2 separate regions of the Homo sapiens genome follow, and region 2 is linked to region 1. Evidence: promoter capture Hi-C in 16 types of primary human blood cells and fetal thymus (Javierre and others, 2016). All regions are on one chromosome and are shown on one strand. The core of a region is centred on a gene start or on the middle of the fragment in contact, and the rest is flanking DNA. Distances in the headings are between cores, read along the strand shown.

Evidence for each region. Contacts are between HindIII fragments. The CHiCAGO score rates a contact against its expected background, and 5 or more counts as called.
Region 2: a contact is called between a fragment that was not itself captured here and the fragment with the promoter of NME6 in region 1, in 4 of 17 cell types (megakaryocytes, endothelial precursors, M1 macrophages and 1 more). The highest score is 6.5, in megakaryocytes.

Annotation. Positions count from the first base shown.
Region 1 is chr3:48,299,695-48,305,236 of GRCh38, reverse strand. NME6 (NME/NM23 nucleoside diphosphate kinase 6) reads left to right here and starts at 3,870. Exons shown (of 6, transcript NM_001308426.2): 1 at 3,870-3,884. RefSeq lists silencers at 3,448-3,667, 3,968-4,167 and an enhancer at 3,758-3,887. The HindIII fragment of the contact is 12,296 bases long and covers 1-5,542 here.
Region 2 is chr3:48,414,119-48,418,874 of GRCh38, reverse strand. PLXNB1 (plexin B1) reads left to right here. Exons shown (of 38, transcript NM_001130082.3): 14 at 333-426; 15 at 512-684; 16 at 813-964; 17 at 2,424-2,529; 18 at 2,708-2,844; 19 at 3,116-3,292; 20 at 3,528-3,699; 21 at 3,834-4,076. Among named protein-coding and RNA genes, the nearest start is that of PLXNB1, 14 kb to the left of the region's middle. The HindIII fragment of the contact is 450 bases long and covers 1,922-2,371 here.

The DNA.
Region 1 (5,542 bases), core at 2,621-5,120:
GTACAATAACTAAAGTGACAAATTCACTAGAGAGGCTCAATAGCAAAGTTGAACAGGTAGAAGAAAGAACAAGTGAACTTGAAGAAAGATTGACATTAACCAGTGCGAGGAGCAGAAAGAAAAAGGAACAGAGCCCTGGAAGCCTTTGGGATATAATTAAGCATAACAACATAAAGATAATGGTAGTCCAGGAAGGAGAAGGAAGAAAGAAAAGGGCAGAAAGATATTTGAAGAAATAATGACTGAAAATATCTCAAATTTTTCAAAGAATGTTAACATATGCATCCAAGCAACTCAGCAAACTCCAAGTAGGACAAACTCAAAGAAATCCACACCTATACACATCATAATCTCTGTCAAAAGCCAAAGACCAAGAGAGAATTTTGAAAGCAGCAAAAGAGAAGCAAATCATTAAGTACAGATGACCCTCAGTAAGATTAACATCTAGTTTCTCGTCAGAAATCATGGAGGCCAGAAAGCAGTAGGATAACATATTCAAAGTGCTAACAGAAAAAAAACATCAGCCAAGAATTCTATATCCATAAAGAAAATCCTTCAGAAATGAAGAAGAGTGGTGACTCACTCCTGTAATCCCAGCACTTAGGGAGGCTGAGGCGGGTGGATCATCTGAGGTCAGAAGTTCAAGACCAGCCTGGCCAACACAGTGAAACCCTCTCTACTAAATATAATTACAAAATTAGCTGAGTGTGGTGTTGCATGCCTGTAATCCCAGCTGCTTGGGAGGCTGAGGCAGGAGAATTGCTTGAACCTAGGACGCAGAGGTTGCAGTGAGCCAAGATTGCACCATTGCACTCCAGTGTGGGCAACAAGAGCAAAACTCCATCTCAAAAAAAAAAAAAAAGAAAAAAAGAAAAGAAAAGAAAAAAAAAGAAATGAAGGAGAAAGTAAGATGACCAACAAAACTAATAAAAACCGAAATAATTTGTCTCCAGCAGATCCACCCTGCAGGAAATACTAAAGGGAATACTTTAGGCTGAAGCGAAAGGACACTTAAATCCACAAGGGGAAATAAAGAGAACTGGTAGAGGTAACTACACAGTTAAAGACAGTATAAATATATGGTTTTGTTTGTAAATCTTTTATTCTCCTATATGATTTAAAAGACAATTGCATAAAGCAATAGTTAATAATAAATAATAACAGCCAGGCGCAGTGGCTCATGCCTGTAATTCCAGCACTTTGGGAGGCCGAGGCGGGCGATCCATCGCCTGAGGTCAGGAGTTCAAGACCAGCCTGGCCAGCATGGTGAAACCCCATCTCTACTGAAAATACAAAAATCAGCCAGGCGTGGTGGCAGGTGCCTGTAATCCCAGCTACTTAGGAGGCTGAAGCAGGAGAATCGCTTGAACCCGGGAGGCAGAGGTTGCAGTGAGCCAAGATCACGCCATTGCACTCCAGCCTGGGCAACAGAGCGAGACTCTGTCTCAAAATAATAATAATAAATAATAATAACAAATTATACGCTTGATGATGTGTCACAGGTTTCTGAGGCTCTGTTCCTCTTTTTCTAACTTGTTGAGATGGAGGCTTACTGAATTTCCAGTCTTTCTTCTTTTCTAATATATGTATTTTAGGCTACAAATTTCCATCTAAGCAAGGCTTTAGCAGTATCAATTTTTAAAAAATTGTATCTAAGTACAGTATACATACAGAATTCACATAAGCGTAGCATTGAATGAGGCACCTGGTCAGTACTGTTTCTAAGTGTTTAGTAAATGTTTTTTATTACTACTGTGAATTGTCCTTTGCCTCTTATGCCATAGCATCCTGGCAATGGGGAGGGGTTTGAGGGTGGGATGGTGAAGAGATTCTGGGATTCCATTTTATTGGAGCATTTTTTTCCCCTTGCTTCTCATAAGGTGTCTGTCGGGGAGAGATCTGTGTCACTTATTGCAGTTTGTTGCATGCTGGAATGCTGCAGATTCTGGAATGCCATCTGTATCAGTTGTCTGGAATTTGGTTTCACATAAGGTTCTTGTCTTCTGTTTAACTGGTTTGCTGGGACTTCTGAAGTCCTGATGATCATACTGGGAAGGCAGACTCAGGGGTGGCGATGCTGGCTGTGGCCCTCATCTGCTGGGCCATGGTGGTTATTGTGTTGCTTCTTTTGCTGTGTCCTAGAACAGGGGCTTTACTGAGCCACCCATGTCCTCTGAGAGCTTTGCAACTTACAAGGACTGTTCTCTTCCTTCAGGGGCTGGGATGACTTGCTGATTTAAGCCCCTTTGTTGAGATACAGAGGTATTGTCATAATGACTGGGACTTGTGTTGCTCATCTTTGAGGAAGATTTGTTTAGGCTTGCTGTTATCCACCATATCTTTTATTTAGAGTAGTTTGCTGGCTAACTCACTGGGTCCTTTGGCCTACTGCAGATTCAGTTGCTACAACTCCGTCAGTGATTCCGTGTAGGGAGAAGTAATGGGTTGTCATTTTTGGAGTCAGGGTTGGGGGCCTGGGGTTTGAGAATCAGGTCAGAATTCATGGGTTGAGGTTTAGGGATTTGAGGTTGGGATTAGGAGGTTAGAAGATAAGCATCAAGGGCTCAGGATCTAGAGACCAGGTCTAGGATTAAAGGATTATAAATTTAGGGACTAGGGCTTGGGTTAGGATTGGAACTGAGTAGCAGAGGAGTTAAGATTAGAATAGGGGGTGGTGGTCAAGGGTCTAAACAAAAAGAGAAGAGATGCAAGGGTCTGCGGAGAGACTGGAAAAACTTTCCTCGTAAGTTCCCAAAGGTGACTGGGTATCAGGAAACTATTGGGAAGTGGCTTCTTATTGCTGCAGGGACAGAAGCCATGAGTTGGGGATAAACCTTCCAAGAGGGCAACACCTGTGTAGGCAGACACCGAAGTCAGTTAAATGTGCAAGTAAGTCTTTACATTGATGACAGTTATCGTTTATTTTCATTCTTCTCATTCTCAGTGATTTCCCTCAAAAAAAAAAAAAAAAACCCAAGAAACCAAAACACTTTTTTTTTTTTTAACCATCTTTATTCAACCTGTCACCAAGTTTCTGGTCACCTGCCACAGCTGACCCCCGATCCATTCTCCCTGTCCCCATCCTCTCCATACATCACAGTACACACCAGGAATACCCCCAGTTCTCATCTCCTCACCCTGGGCTGCGTCAATAGACTCCAGAGTAACCCAAACCACACCCTGCTGCCCAGATTCCTAATGACACGTGAAAGGCCGTTATGACTTGCTTTCCTCATGCCCTATGCACACCTGGGCTCCAGCCAAGGATCCTCCTTCATCAACCCCCATATTAGCTACGATCCTTCATGCTAATGTATCGCTCAGAGCTCAAAAGACTTTGAAGGGCCTGTGCCTTCGCTATCGAGCGCTTAAGTTCTTTGCCCTCCGCGTACTTTTGACAAATACTGGGCATCAACCATGTTCCAGGAACTACCCTGGGCAAAGAAAATAACTGGGCAAGGTTTCCATCGGTGTCTCTGCTGGCGGGCATCGCCCCCGCCGGGCCGCCACCCTGAACGAGCCCGTCCGGTCCTCTGGGTTCCGCCACCCTGCGTAGCGCTGCGCCAGCACCCGGCCCAGCACTCCCTCCCGCCGAGGGCGCCCAGGCCGGCTTCCGAGGGCGCCCAGGCCGGCTTCCGAGGGGCGGTTCCCACAAGCGAGTTCCGGCGCCCAGAACGGCTTCATCCTCTCGTCCCGTCCGCGGCAAATGCATGCGCCTGGAAAACCCGCCACCCTCCAGGGCAACTCACACCTCACCTCACGCCGCGGCGCAACCGGACTAGGACCCCGAGCAGGGCTGCCCAGGGAGCGCCTGAAGGACCCTGCGAGGGCCGCAGGCTATCCAGCGTGGCGCCTGGTGGCCGGGCCCTGTGCCGGAGGACAAGGTGAACCCGCAGCCGGACTTCTGCTGCACTGGGGCTCCGAATGACCCAGAATCTGGGGTGGGCTTAGGCCCCGGGTACGAGGGGTGAGGGCTGCGCGGTTGCAGGCCTAGAGAAGTAGGGGGCTGGGTCGAGAGTTGAGGCCGTGAGCCCGGGGGGCTGGAGGGCGTGGCCACGGGGGTAGGGGCGCAGGTCCCGGCCGCGCGTGGGTGGACCAGGGCTGGGCCGCCGCCCTCCAGGAAGCGAGTGGTGGCCCCCTCGAGTGCTGGGGTGGCAGTGTACCGACAGCTTTACTTTTTTTTTGTTTTGGAGACGGAGTCTGGTTCTGTCGCCAGGCTGGAGTGCAGTGGCGCGATCTCGGCTCACTGCAGCCTCCGCCTCCAGAGTTCAAGTAATGCTCCTGCCTCAGCCTCCCTAGTAGCTGTGACTGTAGGCGCGCGCCGTTATGCCTGGCTAATTTTTTTGTATTTTTAGTAGAGACGGGCTTTCACCATGTTGGCCAGGATGGTCTTGATCTCCTGACTTCGTGATCCGCCCGCCTCGGTCTTTCAAAGTGCTGGGATTACAGGCGTGAGACACCGCGCCCTGCCTAAAATTTTTAATTCTCATGGAGTCACCTTTAAGTCTAACAGGATTCTCGACTTGTCAGTTTGTTGTAAACCAAGAGTCAAGACAGCCACAACTTAGCTGCGTTAGTAAAGGAACCATGTCCTCCCTACAGGCCGCGTGTTCTTGCCACGAGAACCCCTAGCAGCCTGGCCTTGGAATGGCTGGATGAGGTGCATTCGTTGGTTCATTCAGATACTGTTAAGAGCCAGCTGTGTGCTAGGTACTGCTTACACCTTCTGGTGGTGAAGACGGAACTGAAGGGAACTTGCAAGGAGCTGTGAGAAAGTGTAACGGGAAGTGAGCTAAGATCACTAAGGTGGGCAGGAGGCAACCAGAGAAAGCACATTCAGGACTGCGAAAACTACTCACACAAAGGCTGTCAAGCCAGAAATTCTTTCAAAACTGAAAGGCCCATGAGGTTGGAGCTAGAGAAACTTAAGGAGTGTGGGGTTCCAGATGAGGCTAGAGAGGTACGTGGGGAACCACAAGATCATGCAGAGCCTGGGAGGCCGTGATAAGGATTTTGGTTTTTATTCTAAGAACAGGGTGCCCTTTAAAGGGTTAAGGAGGGGAACCATATGATTAGATTTTCATGTGTGGTTCACTTTGGCTGCTGTGTGGAGATTGTAGAGGTTGGCAGGACAGAAACTGGGAGACCAAAGAGGAGGCTGTCAAGATGTCCAGAGGGGAATGATGATGTCTTAGAGTTATGGTGGTAGCAGTTGAGGATGGGAGAATGGTATGGGTTTTGAGATATATTAGGTAGGGAAAATTGCCAGAAGTTGGTGATCGTGTGGATATGAAGAGTGAGGGAGGGGAGGTGTCATGGATGTCTCTGTAGACAGTTGCTGAAAATGACGTGTTACCACCTGTGGCATTAGGGAGAGTGGGTTAGCTGATCTTGTACTGGTTAGATTGGGTGTGGCTTTATGGTTTGAGTGGAAAATCAGGTTGAAAGCTGTAGAAAGGACATGAATAGGAGCGACCATGGCAGTTTCTTTGCTTGGGCCAGATTCTAATACCACCTTTAACATGATTGACAGTTTTTAGGA
Region 2 (4,756 bases), core at 897-3,396, 120 kb before region 1:
TGGCCACAGGCTGGCTGCCAACTGTAGCTGGCTGCACCACACTTTCCAGAGCCACGCTCTGACCGTGTCGCCCTGAGGGAGTCTCCACACCCATTTCTGACCTCTGACCATGTGCCCCGTGGAGTCCTTGCATCCCAGCTCTGAACTCTAACTTGAGACCCCATGGGGTCCCCATACTCCATTTCTGGCTCTGCCCTCCAACTTGTGGCCCCATGGGGTCCCTCTGACCCTATGCTCCTAACTGGTCGTTTTAGTCCTTTCTCTGACTAACCCCTCCCCAGGCCTGACACTTCCCCCAGTGCTTGACTCTGAACCCACTCCCATTTCTCCAGCTCAGCTATGAGGCTCTGCAGCCGGAGCTCCGTGTGGGGCTGTTTCTGCGTCGGGCCGGCCGTCTGCGTGTGGACAGTGCTGAGGGGCTGCATGGTGAGCCACCTGCGGGCTGCTGGGCTGGCGGTGGTAGCAGGGCTCTCCCAGGCCTGCCTCTCACGTGTGTCTCTGCCACCCCCAGTGGTACTGTATGACTGTTCCGTGGGACATGGAGACTGCAGCCGCTGCCAAACTGCCATGCCCCAGTATGGCTGTGTGTGGTGTGAGGGGGAGCGTCCACGTTGTGTGACCCGGGAGGCCTGTGGTGAGGCTGAGGCTGTGGCCACCCAGTGCCCAGCGCCCCTCATCCACTCGGTTTGTTGAAAGGCTGGCCATCCCTTCCTCAGTGCTGCCCTTAGAGGGAGGGTGTGGGGGCCCAAAGGTGGGAGGTTGGGGCTGCCTTTCCAGTTGAGTAGAGGTGAGCAGTCCTTGTCCTGGAACAGGTGGAGCCACTGACTGGGCCTGTAGACGGAGGCACCCGTGTCACCATCAGGGGCTCCAACCTGGGCCAGCATGTGCAGGATGTGCTGGGCATGGTCACGGTGGCTGGAGTGCCCTGTGCTGTGGATGCCCAGGAGTACGAGGTCTCCAGCAGGTAAGCTGGCTGCACCCAGCAGGAGCACGGCGCAGCCTGGGGCCTCCGCGGTTGGCGTTGCTGCTTGGGGCCTCCCACCCACCGCTCATCTGCCCCCCTCTCTCCCTGTTCCTTGATCCTGGCCACAATGCCCGAGTGCCAGCGTTGCCACTGAAGACCCTGAGCACCCACCACACCTGTAGGTTCCTGGCCTGGGCTGCTGGGGAATCCTTCCTGGGCCCGTCACTGCCCAGAACTGACTCGTGGCTCTGCTTCCTGCTCTGCTCACCTGGTCTTCTGAGGGACTGTGGATATATTAATAGCTGTGGCAGCAGGACCCTCAGATCAGACAGATAAGCTCAGGGGCTGGCCTTCTCACCAGCTCACTCTTCCCCAGGCATTGTCCTGGGCTGCCAGGCTCTTCAGGAAGGTAGACTTGGAAGGCACACCTCAGAAAGGCACACTGGCCGAGGGCCAGGCTCCACTGTCGTCTCTAGGGACCCCTGCTGCCTTCCTGGGGCTCCTGGGTTATGGTAACCTGGCCAGCGGTTGCAGGCCCCAAAGGTACACACGCAGGACATTCCTAAGGAGATGTCCATAAGCAGCAGGGCCCAAACGTGGCTGAATATCAGGGTAACCTGCAGATCCTGTCCCAAACCAACACAAACATCTGGATTCAGGAGGCCCACGGTGGGGCCCCCAAATCTGTATTTGAAACAAGGAACCACTCTCCTGGAGCACGGAGTGTCCCCTGAATGTGTTATGACCGAGAACTTACGGTGACTATCTAGACTGTTAGTGTTCCAGACCATAAGACTGCTGTGATTTATGAAGCAATTAGCATATATTCTGTCTGGAGCCTCCCCTGGGTGGCTCACACGTCACTTGTGTCTTCCTAGTGTTTGCAACAACTGTGACAATGTCACTGAGTTGAGCCACTGCAGGCTTAACACTCTGGAAGTTTAATTTGCCCAAGCTTCTATTTTCTGGCTAAGAACCAGCATTTTCTTAGATGGTTCACTTTCCCTTCACCTGTATTTCCCTGTCTGACTAGAGGCTTTCAGGGACTCTTTTTCCTGAATAAATCAAGTTTCTACCATGCTTTGAGTGGGTACTGTGCATGTGACGTGGCGGAGGACATGGGCGGCTAGCTGTGCCCACTCACTTGCTCAGCAGCTCGCCCCACAACCAGGCTGACAGGGCCCCTTTGTAAATTTATGCCACAGATAAATTCTTCCTTATTGGGGGCCCCTGGGGTTGAACTTAAATGATTGAAGCCACAAATATTAATTCTCAGATACCAAGGCCTTCTGATGTGTCATAAAGAATTCCCTCCAAAGTGAGAGAGGGTCTCTGTCAATCTTATGGAGCATGGGAAGGGGAAGACCACCTGACAGTAGGGCAGGGAGAGGGGCTGCCAGGTAAGCTTGAGGGGCCCTTGATGCAGCCTGGCACCCCCTAGCCTGCCCTGTGCCTACAGCCTCGTGTGCATCACCGGGGCCAGTGGGGAGGAGGTGGCCGGCGCCACAGCGGTGGAGGTGCCGGGAAGAGGACGTGGTGTCTCAGAACACGACTTTGCCTACCAGGTACCTGACTGCTGAGCCACCCCCAGCTGCCAGCGGGCCAACCTCTCTGGTGGCTCCTCTCAACCCATCTGGTTATTCCTTGGTGGGGCTCCCAGTCCTGGGCCAGCCTGTCTCTCAGGCTGTCCCTGCCTCCATGTGTCTGGTCTGATGCTCATCTCTCTCCCTGTCTGTCCCACAGGATCCGAAGGTCCATTCCATCTTCCCGGCCCGCGGCCCCAGAGCTGGGGGCACCCGTCTCACCCTGAATGGCTCCAAGCTCCTGACTGGGCGGCTGGAGGACATCCGAGTGGTGGTTGGAGACCAGCCTTGTCACTTGTGAGGGCCACTTCCTCATCCTGCAAAAATCCATCTGCTCCAGGGGAAAGATGGAGGGGTCTGAGATCCTGGGGAGAGCAGAAAGGGGAAGAGGGCCAGTCTGCTCCTTCAGAGAGTGGCCAGACCCTCCCTAGCCAGCTGTGGTGGGAGTGCACCTCCAGGGACACCTGGTGGAGACTGCAGTCAGCGCTTGAGGGAAGCCAGTTGGGGCCTGAGTGGTCCAAGTTTTCCCTGCCTGCGCCCCTGCATTCATTCCCACCTCCCCTCCCAGGCTGCCGGAGCAGCAGTCAGAACAACTGCGGTGTGAGACCAGCCCACGCCCCACGCCTGCCACGCTCCCTGTGGCTGTGTGGTTTGGGGCCACGGAGCGGAGGCTTCAACGCGGACAGTTCAAGTATACCTTGGACCCCAACATCACCTCTGCTGGCCCCACCAAGAGCTTCCTCAGGTGTTGGGCCAGGGGTGTGGCTGCATGGCAGGTGGCAGGGAGGTCTTTGCAGCTCCACTATGTGGGGGTTTGTAGGGCTTTATGTTGAGGCACTGAGAATCCCATGCTGCTAGTAGGGGCAAGGGGTCGTGTGGTTTGGGGCTGGGGCTGAGCTGACCTAGCCGGGACTGGGCTGTGCTTTAGGTCCAGGTAACATAAGCCATCTTACGTTACGTAAGCTCACGGTCTGTTTCAGTGGAGGACGTGAGATATGCGTCCGTGGCCAGAATCTGGACGTGGTACAGACGCCAAGAATCCGGGTGACCGTGGTCTCGAGAATGCTGCAGCCCAGCCAGGGGCTTGGACGGAGGCGTCGCGTGGTCCCGGAGACGGCATGTTCCCTTGGACCCTCCTGCAGTAGCCAGCAAGTAGGACACCCTTGGGTACCCCCACACTCTCCCCTTGCCCCATACCACACCCTGGGGACAGCCAGAGCAGGTGCCAGAGGAGGCTCTTCCCATCTTTGCTTGGCCCCTCGTCAACCTGCCTGTCTTCCTTCCAGTTTGAGGAGCCGTGCCATGTCAACTCCTCCCAGCTCATCACGTGCCGCACACCTGCCCTCCCAGGCCTGCCTGAGGACCCCTGGGTCCGGGTGGAATTTATCCTTGACAACCTGGTCTTTGACTTTGCAACACTGAACCCCACACCTTTCTCCTATGAGGCCGACCCCACCCTGCAGCCACTCAACCCTGAGGACCCCACCATGCCATTCCGGCACAAGCCTGGGAGTGTGTTCTCCGTGGAGGTACAGCTCCTACTTGGACCTGGCAGGGCCCCGAGACCCTTCCCTTGGCTGGACAGCACTGCTGTGTGTGGCGGAGAGGCCGAGACAGTAGAGCAAGGGCCGGTGGATGGACATGGCTCCTCATCCTTGCTGTGGTGGGGGCAGAGGGGGCTGGTGGGGGGTGCCTAGCCTAGCATCTGGCACGAGCTGGACTGCTTGGCTGGTGGCCCGGGTCCTGATGCACTCCATGGCAGGCTCTGGAATGACTGCATTTGTATGTTCGGCCTGTGCAGTAGCTGGGTGGTGTGGTCCACATAGGCCATCGGGCTGACCCCCGTTGGCAGCCTGGCTCACATGGACATGCGCTAGGCATGTGTCTTGGACATACACAGTGGGCAGCAGATGGGCATGCGGGCAGACCACAGGTTGATACAGCATCATCACCCCCCTGGTGAGTCATCAGACACAGATTGGGGGCTCCAGCTTTGTTAGGTAGCTGGGCAGGATTTGGGAGGCAGCTTTATGTTCTCCAGATTTTTCGTTCTGGAGAAGAAAGATAGGAAAGGGCAACAAAGGGTGATGAGGAGCAGCTTGGAGGACACCGTGTGACTGGCCTGCACTCGGGAAGGGTGCTGAGAGGCTGTCAGCTTTGCTGCTGCGGCTGGGTCTCAGGGTCCTTCCCACATTTGGGGAGGACAGGA